2 separate regions of the Homo sapiens genome follow, and region 1 is linked to region 2. The links are contacts of gene promoters, found by promoter capture Hi-C in blood cells and fetal thymus (Javierre and others, 2016). All regions are on one chromosome and are shown on one strand. Each heading gives the region's core, a stretch centred on a gene start or on the middle of the fragment in contact. The rest is flanking DNA. Distances are from core to core; before and after follow the strand shown.

The links. The method cuts DNA at HindIII sites, captures the fragments that hold promoters and counts their contacts. A CHiCAGO score of 5 or more calls a contact.
Region 1: a fragment that was not itself captured here is called in contact with the fragment with the promoter of H4C2 in region 2 in 1 of 17 cell types (neutrophils); the score reaches 9.2 in neutrophils.

Annotation. Positions count from the first base shown.
Region 1 is chr6:26,263,676-26,271,032 of GRCh38, reverse strand. It overlaps H3C8 (H3 clustered histone 8), which reads left to right. Exons shown (of 1, transcript NM_003534.3): 1 at 1-115. The coding sequence ends at 59. Among named protein-coding and RNA genes, the nearest start is that of H3C8, 4.1 kb to the left of the region's middle. RefSeq lists enhancers at 579-718, 1,492-2,088. The HindIII fragment of the contact is 3,575 bases long and covers 220-3,794 here.
Region 2 is chr6:26,024,799-26,032,474 of GRCh38, reverse strand. It overlaps H4C2 (H4 clustered histone 2), which reads left to right and starts at 5,192. Exons shown (of 1, transcript NM_003544.3): 1 at 5,192-5,579. The coding sequence starts at 5,223. The coding sequence ends at 5,534. It overlaps H3C2 (H3 clustered histone 2), which reads left to right and starts at 376. Exons shown (of 1, transcript NM_003537.4): 1 at 376-886. The coding sequence starts at 415. The coding sequence ends at 825. RefSeq lists enhancers at 3,367-3,952, 3,953-4,537, 4,538-5,123, 5,100-5,419, 5,440-5,499 and 4 more. The HindIII fragment of the contact is 5,368 bases long and covers 1,191-6,558 here.

The sequences.
Region 1 (7,357 bases), core at 758-3,257, 240 kb before region 2:
TGACTATCATGCCCAAGGACATTCAGCTCGCTCGCCGCATTCGTGGGGAGAGAGCGTAGAGGTTTCCGGGCAGTAATTCTATCCAACTTAAAAAGGCTCTTTTAAGAGCCGCCTACTTTCACCCGAAAATAGCTGTGATTAACTAATCAAATCTTTGAAACTAAACATTGGTTTTAGTACTTAAGTCCTCATTTGATTGGCTAAAGTTAATGGTAAGCTTGCTATATTTGTTCCCGTGCTTTTTCCCGAAAGTGCCAGATTGTCAGCGTCCTTTTCTAAACTGGCTTTTAGGGGTTTGGAGCTTCGATTTGGTAGTGGAAGGGGCCACCTGGGGGCGTTTATATACATTGTCTCAAGCGTTAGTCGCGTTGTCTACTTACACCCATTATAGATGGGATTTTTTTTCGTTGTGTATTTCTGGTTAATCCCTTTTAAAACTTTACAGGTATGAGCATTGGCAGTTGAGAGTAGGTAGGGATATCCTTGGTTGCTGCTTTTTCGTGTCTGAAGCAGCTATTTCCACAATTCCCCCTTTTTTTAAACAGTTCTTGGTTTTTCTGTGAAATGATCCATTTTTTAATTCAATATTAGAAATTGGCGGCAGAAACGAAAGCCAGATTGGCCTCTACATTACTGGCAGCATGGGCATTACGTGGGAACTTGTTAGAAGCTCCCAGGGCATTACATGGGAGCTTGTTTCAATCCCCATCTAGGGCTGGAGTCAATCTGCATATACCTCAGATGATTCTCATGAACACTGATTTAGGAAGCCTAGGTTGTTGGTTTTGGTCTCATCAGTAAAGGCATCCTGCCTGTGAACTCTTACAAGGAGTGAGCTTTTGCAAAATGCATGTTTATTTATGTTACAGAATGAAATATTCTATGAAATGTTCTCTAAAGCAAGTGCACAGAACAATCCCCTAAAATAGTTTGATTTCTTTACAGATCAGTTTTCTCAATGTAACATTACAGTCACATGGGAAGGCTTTAGAAAAATCTTTACCTGGGGTTCAATGAGACTAATAGCAATCTAGAGTGGGCCCAGGGAATGGTAATTATTAAAATTCAGGTGCTTCTAACAGCTGGGGCTGAGACTCCTTGCTACATAAATTTTAATACTCTTATTAGCTCTGGTTTGACTCTAGGCTTAGCAGTTTTCTAATTGAATCAGTTTCCTTGTAGTTTGCCTTCAGAGAGAATATACTGGTCTCTAAAGACTTTCTGGCTTGCTTGACTATCTTTCAACACCTGGCTTTTATAAGAATTTCTTAGGGCAACACTAATGTAAGTTTTTTCTTTTTTGTTTTGTTTTGTTTTTTGTTTTTTTGAACCACCGAGGTCCTTTTAGTGATTGGAAGTATCAGGTTTTTAGGGATGTTACAAGGAGGAACACATACCATCCTGGGCTGCTTGGCATACAACCAAGATATGTTTTCATATAGAACCCTTCCTTTACAGATTAGCACAAGGCCCTGTTTGGGTATTCAGCAGATCCTTCTTTATGATCTTTATTAATTTAGCAACTTGTCATTTTTTTTCACATATTGCTTTTATTTTAAAAACTTATTTGACATTCCAGAATATATGGGAAAGGAGATAATAGTTTAATAAAACCTATGTTCCTCTCATCCAGCTTCAATAACAACATTGGCTAAGTGTTTTATCTATTGATTTTTGTAAAGCAAATAATGAAACTGCCTAATGGGTTCACCTTGCCCACTGCCTAGACAAAGCTGATTTATCTAGGCAGGGAATTGCAATAGAGAAAGTAATTCACGCCGAGCCAGCTGTGCGGGAGACCGTAGTTTTATTGTTACTCAAATCAGTCTCCCCAGCATTCCAGATGGGGGGGAAGCCGATGAACCAGGAGTCCTGATTGGTCAGGTCAGAGATGTCATTATAGGGAGCTGAAGGTGTCTCCTTGGGCTGAGTCAGTTTCTGGGTGGAGGCCACAAGATCGGATGAGTCAGTTTACCAATCTGGGTGGGGCCAACTGATCCATCAGGTCTGCAAAATATCTCAAGCACTGATCTTAGGAGCAGTTTACGTGGGGTCAGAATCTTGTAGGTTCCAGCTGCAGGACTCCTAAACCATAATGTGTGTGTTTTTTTTTTTCTTTGAGACAGTCTCACTGCGTTGCCCAGGATGGAGACTGTAAACTCTGCCTCCCAGGTTCGAGCGATTCTCCTGTTCAGCCTCCCAAGCAGCTGGGATTACAGGCGCGCGCCACCATGCCCAGCCAATTTTTGTAGTTTTAGTAGAGACGAGGTTTCCTCATATTGGCCAGGCTGGTCTCGAACTCTGGACCTCAAGTGATCCACCCGCTTTCGCCTCCCAAAATGTTGGGATTACAGGCGTGAGCCATTACGACCTACCCCTAAACCATAATTTCTAATCTTGTGAGTAATTTGTTAGTCCTACAAAGGCAGTCTAGTCCCCAGGCAAGGAGGTTTGTTTTGGGAAAGGGCTGTTATCATATTAGTTTTAAACTATAAACTAAGTTCCTCCCAAAGGTAGTTCAGCCTACACCCAGGAGTGAACAAGGACAGCTTGAAGGTTAGAAGCAAGATGGAGTTGGTTAGGTCAGATCTCTTTGTCTCAGTTACAATGTTGCAATGACAATTTCAATATCATTTCATCTATTTTATATATGTTATCTGCTATTTAACACCTTATTATGGACCAGGTGCCTTGGCTCACTCCTGTAATCCCAGCACTTTGGGAGGCCGATGTGGGAGGATCACATGAGGTTAATTCTTGACAAACCTGGCCAACTTGGTGAAACCCCATCTCTACTAAAAATATAAAAATTAGCTGGACCGGGCCTGGTGGTGCACGCCTGTAATCCCAGCTACTGGGGAGGCTGAGGTAGGAAAATCTCTTGAACCTGGGAGGCGGAGGTTGTAGTGAGCCAAGATCATGCCACTACACTCCAGCCTGGTGACAGAGCGAGACTCCATCTCAAAAATAAAAACAAAAATAAATTATGATGCCATCATTACTTTTATAACAAATAGTATTTCTTTTTTAAAAATTTAATATGATCCATTTTGGTTGACATATTTCTTCAACATTGATTTTTATTTACTGCAAACAACACTGGTTGAGAATTTACAATGTACCAGATGCTGGTCTGTGCATTGGAAATACACCCAGAGAACAAAACACAAAATTTTTGCTTTCATGGAATTTACATTTGAGTCTGGAATAGACAGAAAATAAACTAGATATGTTTATGTAATATGTTAGATGGTGAGAAGGAAAAAAAAATAGAGCAAGACTAAGGAGTGTCATGGGAAGCTGAAATTTAGATAAGGCAACCAATGAAGACCCCACTAAGAAGATAATATTTCAGCAAAGAGCTGAAAGGTGAGGAAGCAACCTGTGCGGATGTGTTCAGGGAGAAAAGGAGGGAGACTCCTGAGGCACCATGGTGACTATGGGGAATGAGCAGGGGACAGTAGGAAATGAAGGTGGAGAAAGGGCAGAATAATTTTCCCTTCAATTCCCACCTCACACAGGTTCTTAGTTGAAACAAACCCATGTAACAAAAGACAGATTCACAAATGAAAAACAAGCAGAAGTGTATTAACATATATATTACATATACATGAATGACACCTAGGGAATGAGTACACATTGAGGTGGCTTTGAATTCCAGCTTTTGTGTAGTGTCTTCAACAAAGAACAGTGAATTTTTAGATAATTTAGAAGACGAAGGAGAAGTACTTTGAGTGTCCAGGGGCGGCAATGTTGGGGAAAGCAAACATAGATAAAGGGTAGTTAGTAAAGCTTGCTTTATAGAATCTTCTGGTGCATCACCAGGCCCATAAGAGTGAAAGCTCTTTTCTGTACTTCTTTTGTTCTCCCCAATAGTGTAAACCAAAAAGTGACCGAGCAGATCTCCACTGATTCACAGGTTTATTTTTGCCAAGGTTGAAGATGCATCTAGGAGAAAGAAACACAAGTTACACAAAGTCTATGGCCTGTGAGGCCCAGGTGGGCAGATCACTTGAGGTCAGGAGTTCGAGACCAGTTTGGCCAACATGGCGAAACTCCATCTCTACTTAAAAAATACCAAAAAATTAGCCATGCATGGTTGCACGTACCTGTAGTCCCAGCTGCTCTGAAGGCTGAGGCATGAGAATCGTTTGTACCTGGGAGGTGGAGGTTGCAGTGAGCCGAGATCATACCACTGCCCTCCAGTCTGGGCGACAGAGTGAGACTCTGTCTCAAAAAAAAAAAAAAAAAAGAGTTTAGTATATTCTTATATAAAAAAGACGTAGAAAAGTTAAAATGGATAAAGGGAATGACTGCCAGAGGACAGGAGGGAATGTGGTAGACAGCTGTAATTTTAAAAATGGTGGATGGGGAAGAACTCACAACTGAGATAAGACTGGGAAAAGAAAATAACTTTTTTTTTTTTTTGTACAGACGAGGCTTCACTATGTTGCTCAGGCAAGTCTCAAACTCTTGTGCTCAAGGGATCCTCTCACTTTGGCCTCCAAAAGTGCTGGGGCTACCAGACCTGAGCTACCACACCAGGCCAAGAAAATAACTTTCATCTGAGGAATGGGAGTCATTTTAAATTATCAGGCCCACAGTAACATTAAAATGAGACAGCAATCACAACCTACTCCCCTCTTTGAGCTATGTATTCATCTCTAGATACTGCTTGTTATTGTTATAAGTAGCTATAAGTTTATCTAATAATGCCACATCCCACACTGTAACCCACACCCTGTAGCTTTACAATGTATAGCCAATAACTAATTAATGCTATTTCTGTAAACCAAGGAAAATTCCTGACAAAAAATTTTGTATCAGCCCACCTTCTGTCCCCCCTTTTTTGCCTTTAAAAACCTATTTTTAACAAAGGCCAGTGGAGCTCATATCCAAGATTACTTGGGCCTGAGATTTCTGAGCTGCTGTGCTGACTTTGGCTCAAGTAAATTCTTTTTTTTTTTTTTTTTTTTGAGACAGAGTCTTGCTCTGTCACCCAGGCTGGTGTGATCTTGGCTCACTGGGTTAACGCCATTCTCCTGCCTCAGCCTCCACAGTAGCTGGGACTACAGTGCCCGCCACCATGCCCGGCTAATTTTTTGGTATTTTTAGTAGAGACAGGGTTTCACCATGTTAGCCAGGATGAGTCTCCATCTCCTGACCTTGTGATCCTCCCGCCTCGGCCTCCCAAAGTGCTGGGATTACAGGCATGAGCCACCGTTCCTGGCGCCAATTCTTTTTTTTTTTTGAGACGGAGTCTTGCTCTGTCACCCAGGCTGGTGTGCAGTGGTGCGATCTCGGCTCACTGCCACCTCTGCCTCCTGGGTTCAAGTGATTCTCCTGCCTTAGCCTCCTGAGTAGCTGGGACTACAGGCGCATGCCCCCATACCTGGCTAATTTTTGTATTTTTAGTAGAGACGGGGTTTCACCATGTTGGCCAGAATGGTCTCCATCTCCTGACCTCGTGATCCACCCTCCTTGGCCTCCCAAAGTGCTGGGATTACAGGCGTTAGCCACCGCGCCCGGCCATAAATTCTTTAAGTTATGATTTGTGCCTCTGCATCTTTCTTTTAGGCCAACAAGGCTGAAGGAAATCAACTATTTCATCCCCAAGTATACTTCTTTGACATATTTTGAGATGGCTCTTTGGAGGGTCTGCAAACAGAAGTTGCCCTGCAGAGCTGCCTTTTGTGGAGATGTGCATCTGTAGAGAAAACCTGCTTTGGTGCTGCCAGGGTTTTTTTCTGAGGCTTTACCTTGTCCAATCTAGGAAAGATTAAGTGTCTGACACCAGGCTGGGCGCAGTGGCTCACGCCTGTAATCCCAGCATTTTGGGAGGCCGAGGCAGGCAGATTTGAGGTCAGGAGTTAGAGACCAGCCTGGGCCAATGTAGCGAAACCCCGTCTCTACTAAACACACAAAAATTAGCTGGGCATGGTGGTGGGCGTCTGTAATCCCCGCTAGTCAGGCGGCTGAGGCAGGAGAATTGCTTGAACCCAGGAGGCGGAGGTTGCAGTGAGCCGAGATTGTGCCATTGCACTCCAGCCTGTGCAACAGCGCGAGACTCCCTCTCAAAAAAAAAAAAAAAATCTGAGTCTGACACCTTTAAAGGTCTGAAAGAAACATTTACTATATATGTATTCTTCTTGAGGGCTGTTACCTATGAGTTTTCATCTACATAACAAGACCACCTTTGTTAGCAAAGCCCTCCCATAACCTGTCTTGCATGATTGACCACCCTAACCTGTTTTTGGCCATGCTCTGAGTCCCCATTCTTTAACCTAAAGATGGCATTTAAGCTTCTGTACCCCCTGCTGGGGTTGGGGTAATTACTCTGTGGTTCTCCCTCCTGCATGTTAATAAACTTGTGTGCCTTTCTCTCCTATTAATCTGTTTTTTGGTAATTGATTTTTGAGAAAAACTTCAGAGGGTGAAGGCGAAGATTTTTCTTGGTCCTGACAAGACTGAGCAGAGAAGAGAGTGAGTTCTTTATACAGCTGTAGGAAGATCATACCAGAGAGAAGAAACATTGATTCATGGATCCTGAGTTGGGTGCATATTTGGGCTATGGACATTGTTCTGATAGCCAACTACATAAAACCAGGGCCTTTGTTTTTCTTAAGCTGGAATTTCCAGGTAACTCAGTACTGATTTATACTTTTTTTTTTTGAGACGGAGTTTCGTTCTTGTTGCCCAGGCTGGAGTGCAATGGCACGATCTCGGCTCTCTGCAACCTCCGCCTCCCGGGTTCAAGTGATTCTCCTGCCTCAGCCTCCTGAGTAGCTGGGATTACAGGCATGTGCCACAATGTCCAGCTAATTTTTGTATCTTTAGTAGAGATGGGGTTTTGCCATGTTAGTCAGGCTTGTTTCCAACTCCTGACCTCAGGTGATCCACCCACCTTGGCCTCCCAAAGTGCTGGGATTACAGGAGTGAGCCACCGCGCCCTGCCTTCTTTTTTTTTTTTTTTTTTTTTTGAGACAGAGTCTCACTCTGTTGCCCAGGCTGGAGTGCAGTGGCAGGATCTCGGCTCACTGTAACCTCCGCCTCCCAGGTTCAAGCACTTCTCCCTGCCTCAGCCTCCCAAGTAGCTGGGAATACAGGTGCCTGCACGCCTGGCTAAGTTTTGTATTTTTTTTTTTAGTAGAGATGTGGTTTCGCCATGTTGGCCAGGTTGGTCTTGAACTCCTGACCTCAGGTGATCTCCCCACCTTGGCCTCCCAACGTGCTGGGATTACAGGCATGAGCCACTGAACCCGGCCTGATTCATACATTTTAATTTTTCAAACGTGTTGCTCCAGATACCCAAGGACATTCAGTTAAGACAGTGAATCAAGAGGCAGGGGCAGGAAAA
Region 2 (7,676 bases), core at 3,943-6,442:
GCGACACCCAGAAAAATACAATTTTAAATAAAGCGCATATGCAAATTTCCCTAATCGTCTCCAATATTCTCTGATTTCTTTTTTATATTTTAACTAGAAACAATTGGAGGTTTCCGCGTTGCTTTGTGTGGTTGTAAATTTTAAGACTTCAGGAAACTTTTCCAGTACAAGACTTGTCCACAGTGGATATAGCAGCTAAGGGGTTAACAAAATGACGTCAGAGTAGCTACGGTAATGGGCAGGAGCCTCTCTTAATCTGCAACCAGGCACAGAGATGGACCAATCCAAGAAGGGCGCGGGGATTTTTGAATTTTCTTGGGTCCAATAGTTGGTGGTCTGACTCTATAAAAGAAGAGTAGCTCTTTCCTTTCCTCCACAGACGTCTCTGCAGGCAAGCTTTTCTGTGGTTTTGCCATGGCTCGTACTAAACAGACAGCTCGGAAATCCACCGGCGGTAAAGCGCCACGCAAGCAGCTGGCTACCAAGGCTGCTCGCAAGAGCGCGCCGGCTACCGGCGGCGTGAAAAAGCCTCACCGTTACCGCCCGGGCACTGTGGCTCTGCGCGAGATCCGCCGCTACCAAAAGTCGACCGAGTTGCTGATTCGGAAGCTGCCGTTCCAGCGCCTGGTGCGAGAAATCGCCCAAGACTTCAAGACCGATCTTCGCTTCCAGAGCTCTGCGGTGATGGCGCTGCAGGAGGCTTGTGAGGCCTACTTGGTAGGGCTCTTTGAGGACACAAACCTTTGCGCCATCCATGCTAAGCGAGTGACTATTATGCCCAAAGACATCCAGCTCGCTCGCCGCATTCGCGGAGAAAGAGCGTAAATGTAAAGTCACTTTTTCATCAGTCTTAAAACCCAAAGGCTCTTTTCAGAGCCACCCACTTATTCCAACGAAAGTAGCTGTGATAATTTTTTGTTGTCTTAACAGAACAAATTTCTAAGGACCCCCCCGGAAAGCATTAGACTATGGTCTTAAAGTTGATTAACAGAAATAACGGTTTGGTCAGTCTTGCAGTGTAGGTTATTTCTGACCTTATTAAGGTGCTATTTGGAGAGAAGCTGTGTAAGTCCACTATCATTCAGGCCTCTAGCTTGCTATGATTAGCATTTGTTTAAACAACTTTGTAAGAGTAAGGGAAAAATCTGGTAAGTAGTTAACTGGCGCTTACTAGGCATTTTTGCAAAGCTTTGAAAAGATTAGAAAATTGTGTCTTGCGAGTTCCAGTGTCTTCCTCAAAATGCTTAGGAAGATTTTCTCAGCTCAATACATAGTCCCCTAGGTTTTCTCATATATTATATATATATATATATATATATATACTGTTAAATTCATTTGGCTGTTAACATTAACCTGAAATTTATTCTGGTGCAAAATGTGAGGCAGGGATCTAACTGGCTCTCATTTTATCCATAGCTAGCTACCCACTTTAAATCTGTCAGTCTGTCGACCAAGCATAATTTAATCCCTTATATATGAATTTTTATATGTGTGGCTTTGCTTGTAAATAGTCTATCTGGTTGCATTGCTTTGTCTCCTCTAGGACTATGCACCATGACATGCCACATTCTTTTTTTCAGTACTTCTTGCCTGTAGTTATTAAAATCTAGAATTTACAAGTTTTAACCATTTTCTTTCTGTTGATCTTGCTTTTCGGTTTTGGAGGTTGGGGATTGAGTACTGGAAGAAAATTTAGAGGGATGGGAATACTGTACGCAAACAAAAGTAATATTTACTTTAAAATTTTTATATTTTGTATTTTTTTATCATATAGCTTTTACATCACATTTTACAGACTAACTTTAGAACAACCACAGAATGTCCAACATTAAAACTACTAATTCCAAAGACCTTGCCTCACATTCTTTTTTACAATAAATATTTTTTACACCTAACATTCTTTCTTGGCCTACATCTAGAATGTAAACTGATGTACCATACTAAAATCGCCTGACCAACTGTCAACAACAACAAATCACACACACAAAAGATTAAATTTGAATTGCATCGTTTACTTAAATTCATTTGTGTTCCAGCTTTTAATAAGGCAGTTTTTGGTTTATAAAGTAATATTTGCATTTTAAAAATTATGAAAATGAATATGTCAGTTTGTTTTATGATTCGTTTTTCTTGACTCTTATACAAGCGACTCTAACTGGCATAGACATTTGTTATCCACAGACAGTATAGATATGTTAGAGATGCCAATGGACTTGGTCTATGCCAAGGTGACTACTCACAAGCTCTGGGCCCAGCTGAAGGTCAAGTATTTTTTTTCCAGTTATAGATGTGCTGGATCTGATGTATAGCGCTTGACTTTTTATATTTTCTTTATCTGTAGGAAACAAATGTGTTGGAGGTACTGGGTCTGACGAATAGCATAAAAGAATAAAGTTACATTACTGTCTGAGGATCAGATGGACAGGGGGTGGTAGCTCAGTCCAGCTATTTTCCACTCCCTCACTTACATTCTTTGCCCCCTCCTCAACAGAACAAGGATTCTGCTGTAACTCTTCATTGACAGTTGATATTTAAAAATTAACGAATGGATGAAATTCTCATTTGTGAAAGAAAATTTATTGAGCATTTTGTATTTGTGAGTAGTGCAAACATTTTAATATTATATTAAGAATCTATTGTTTTGTATTAGAGGAGTAATTAAGGAGAGATTGGAGACAAAAAGGGGGTGTTGTTTGCAGAATATACCATCCAAAAATAGACCACTGTGGGATCAGGATTCTTTTGAGCTAAAGGCACTTCAAAAACAGCATTCAAGAAGGGAATTCTTCTAAACTTTTCTTTCTGAAAACAGGAGATAAAAGTTCCAATGTGAAAAATGCTCTGCTTGTACCAGGTGAAAAGACATATTCTTCAGCCCAGAGGCATAGATGAGATAATTCTGCACAAACACAGCAGGGAGTCATAGCCGAGAGACTTCTATACACAAACAAACCTTGTTAAAATAATCATATATTCCTTTAATCTCCTCATATGGTTTACTTTCCCACAATTGCCTCTCTTTAACTTAATGTGAAAGCATTTAGCTTTTGCCATTTCTTTGGGGCTTCACTTTTTTATGAGGGTTCTCCTGTCCCATAAAATTTACATTAAATACATTTGTATGCTTTCATTCTGCTAATCTGTTTTATGGCAAATGAATTATCAGGTCCAGCTGGAGACCCTAACAGAGTAGAGGTAAAATTTTGCCTCCCTACAAGATAGAGATTGTGTGCATTAAATGTTGTTTGTTCCCAGTTGTTCAGTTTGTCAGGCCTCTGAGCCGAAGCTAAGCCATCATATCCCCTGTGAACTGCACGTATGCCTCTAGATGGCCTGAAGTAACTGAAGAAACACAAAAGAAGTGAAAATGCCCTGTTCCTGCCTTAACTGATGACATTACCTTGTGAAATTCCTTCTCCTGGCTCATCCTGACTCAAAAGCTCCCCCACTGAGCACCTTGTGACCCCCACCCCTGCCAGCCAGAGAACAACCCCCTTTGACTGTAATTTTCCACTATCTACCCAAATCTTATAAAACGGACCCACCCCATCTCCCTTCGCTGACTCTTTTCGGACTCAGCCCGCCTGCACCCAGGTAGAATAAACAGCCTTGTTGCTCACACAAACCCTGTTTGATGGTCTCTTCACACGGACGCGCCTGAAACAGTTTAACAGGGTTTTTCCTGCCCAGTCACAACAAAGTGATGTTATGCTGCAGGCTGAAGTTTACAGCTAATGCTGTTGAAGTCTAAAATCAGTTTTGGTTTGTTAGATTTGGGTGAGATGGCTAAGATTCTCAGAGAAAGAAGTCAAGTTTGGGGTGCATTTTTCAGACTTAAAAATTTAGCAGTAGCCCTTGCAGTTTTTCCAATAGAAGTGATTTAAGAATGTTTTCAGGAAATTTAAAACAACAGTGAGAAGCGTGTATGGAGAGTTGAACTACACTCCAGACTTGGCTATAGGAAAGCACGAATGCTGCTATTGTATTGCACCTTGGAAAAGAGAACAAAGGAATATTTTCGGACAATTTTAACATGTCACATATGAAAAGCTAAACGGAATCTGTCAACACCTTGTACGTTATTACAGGCTGTGATTTTAAAAAAACAATCCTTACTAATACATACATAGTTGCTGCTAGCAATATAGTGTTGGGAGTAAAAACACGAAAATGAGAGTTCAGGACAATATCCCAACTCTGAGCAGATTTTTTTAAGTAGTAACATCTAAAATTAAACCATATTATGTAATATTTATTTCTTTTCCACAGTCTCTTCTCATGCCTCGTTCACATTAGCTAATTAAAAGTCCCCTGAGTATCATCATAACCCGATTTACAGATGAAGGCACGGTTGCAATGAGCTATCACCCTCTTCTGAATGAGACAGTACAGTGTGAAGGATAGCAAAACTCCACTCCCATCCTCTTAGGGCTCTGGCTGGACCAGCAAATTAAATTAATGTAAAATGGATTAACAGGAGAAAGGTATATGCATTTATTTAACACAGGTTTTACGTGACACAGGTGCTCTCATAAGGTAATGAAAGCCCAAAAAAAGCAGTTAGCTACTTATATAATGAATTGGACAATTAGTAAAATGTAAAAATGCGCTAAAGCAAAGGGATTTAGGCTAGAATATATAACTGTGTAGAGAAGCGCCCAGCAAGGGCTAGTGCAAGGTTTGTACAGAATTCTCTTGGCCTCAGCCTCCTATCCTTGAGAAGAATGTTGCTTTTTTTAAACTACAGTGAGAACATCTTTCATATGAGAATTTCACCTACTGCTTCTAAGAAACAGGTCAGCTTTCAAGAAAACATAAGGCCAGAGTGATCTTTTCACGCCTGCTCTTTTAAGTACCTTTGAATAGTCAATATGTCTTCAAGCACTTGAAAGACTTAAAAAGTTTACCACTCCGGCATATTAGTGAAAGCCCTTAATATAAGCCCTTATTAAAATTCTCAGTCGAGGGTATAAATTCAGATTCAAATAGTAGTGTCGTAAACGGGAGGGAAAAACTAAAGGGATTAAAAAGTGAAACTATTGTGTTCTCCCTCGCAGTCCTTAGGTCACTGCCCCTCGAGGGGCGGAGCAAAAAGTGAGGCAGCAACGCCTCCTTATCCTCGCTCCCGCTTTCAGTTCTCAATAAGGTCCGATGTTCGTGTATAAATGCTCGTGGCTTGCTTTCTTTTCGCGTACCTGGTTTTTGTTGTCAGCTGGTTAGACATGTCTGGTCGCGGCAAAGGCGGTAAAGGTTTGGGTAAGGGAGGTGCCAAGCGTCACCGAAAAGTGCTGCGGGATAACATCCAAGGCATCACCAAACCGGCCATTCGGCGCCTTGCTAGGCGTGGTGGGGTTAAGCGAATTTCCGGTTTGATTTATGAGGAGACTCGTGGCGTTCTCAAGGTGTTTCTGGAGAACGTGATCCGGGACGCCGTGACCTACACGGAGCACGCCAAGCGCAAGACTGTCACTGCCATGGATGTGGTTTACGCGCTCAAGCGTCAAGGACGCACTCTGTACGGCTTCGGCGGTTAATCTTTTCGTCAGTTTTCTTCCAATGGCCCTTTTCAGGGCCGCCCACTCCCTCTCAGAAAGAGCTGTGATTGTATTCTTTCGGATGGTAACATCTCAATGGCTTTACTCGGCTATTCTGCCTAGTATGTAGAACTATTATAAACCAGTTGGGAGAGACCAGGTTGTTTGGTCTGAGTGGCTGCTAAAGCAGAAATCAGCTAAGTAAACGAGGTCTCCGAGATAAGTGAGCTATAAACTTCAATGCTATAGTTTTGACATGTCAAGCAACTTAACGTGCAGCGCGAGTCCGATAAATGAGTAGCTCAGCTTTTTAGTTTTAAAAACGAGTTGTGCGTTATTTGTACGAGAGCCTAAGATGCTAGCTGCCTGGAACTGAGTAGGTGGATTAAAATGGGTGTCAGGTCTGTTTTCCCAGGCGTATCTGACTTAACGTCAGCAAAAGCTGTACTTTTAGCTTCCCTGGTAACACCTGCCGTCCTTAACCGCCCCCTGCCGGTAGCGCCAGAAGCCTTTACTTCCATTTCTAGTTGAGCTTGGCGTCCTGCTGAGTGACGTCACCTCCCCCTTCTCTGGAGTAGGACTGGCGGTTAAAGCTGCTTTGCTATTTTCAGTCCTCAGGCTGGAGGCTCCCCTAAGCAGGCTGCCTACGCAGTTCGTAAATTCCCACTTAGTAGACTAAGGGAGTCTGTTTTATAAATAAGGACTCAAATTTCTTCTGACTCCGAGGTCCGTGGCAGCAGCTATAAGATGGAAGCCCCCTCTGATGTAAGATTCTCAGATGACTTGCATCTTCACTGTACCTGTCAACCCAATAGTCTTCTATTCCTGCCTTAAATTGTAAATTCCAAAACTGATTTAATTGTGAAAGTTTCAAACTGTACGACCTAGGAAGTGTCAAAGTTAGGTGACCAGATTTTTAGAAGTCAGCCAAATATTCAGCATCTTTGATTTAGTAACAAATATATTGATGGCTACTTCAGCAAAAAAAATCAACTTTGTTTTCTGGTTACTTTGCTAACAAGCTTCTCCTGACAGGAGGATATAGTGAATAGGCAGTTGAATAAGTGAGTTCGGGTGAGAGGTCTGAGCTGGAGATAAAAATGTGTGAGTCATCAGCAGATAAATAAATGCTGAGACCAGATGAGATGGCTAAAAACTGAAACATAATGTAGTGCAGCATTGTTTGTAATAGTAAATGAGTGGCAACTGTAAAGTTTTCATCAGAAAGGACTAGAGTGATCTATACATCCATAAAATAGAGTATTTCTCTACACAGCCCTACTAAAGAATGAGAAAGCTGTACTCCACTACATACTCTGGTGTACTCTGGCTCAGTTCTTGGACTCCTCTTTTCTTGGCTAACTCAACTGGCCTCACCACTTACATGCTCTGTGCTCTGTCAAATAGTTTGTTCAACAGAACACCACGGCCTAGCTGTAAGTGCCACGTTAACTTCTAGCAATGCCAAAGCCTGTGATAGTGGCAGCTTCGGGCTGTTTCTCATTCCCGGGATGCCTAACCACCTCTCCAAATTCTATCAGTTTGCTTCCACCCACTTCAAGCTTCAGAACGAAACATAGAGCTTAAGAAATATAGGCCCGGCAAGGTGGCTCACGCCTGTAATCCCGGCACTTTGGAAAGCTGAGCCTGGTGGATCACCTGGGGTCAGGGGTTCGAGACCAGCCTGGCCAATATTGTGAAACCCCGTCTCTACTAAAAAAAAAAAAAAAATTAGCTGGGCATGGTTGCGGGCGACTGTAATCCAAGCTACTCGGGAGGGTGAGACAGGAGAATAGCTTGAACTCGGGAGGCAGAAGTTGCAGTGAGTTGAGATCGCGCTATTACACTTAGGCCTGGGAGACAAGAGTGAAACTGTGTCTCTAAATAAGTGTTTGCAATTATAAACCATCTCCCTGACCTTAAATCTCTAGACTCATATACAACTGCATATTTGATGTATCTAATTGAATAATGGGCATCTCGAACTTGTCCAAAATATGTTTATACGTAAACACCAAGTCTGTTCTTCCTCTGATATTTGTCATGTCAATCAATAGAACTCCATTCTTCAAGCAGCTTGGGCCAGGAATTGTGCAATATTGTTTGTCCTGAGCTTCTTACAACTTTCACCCAATGCAGTCA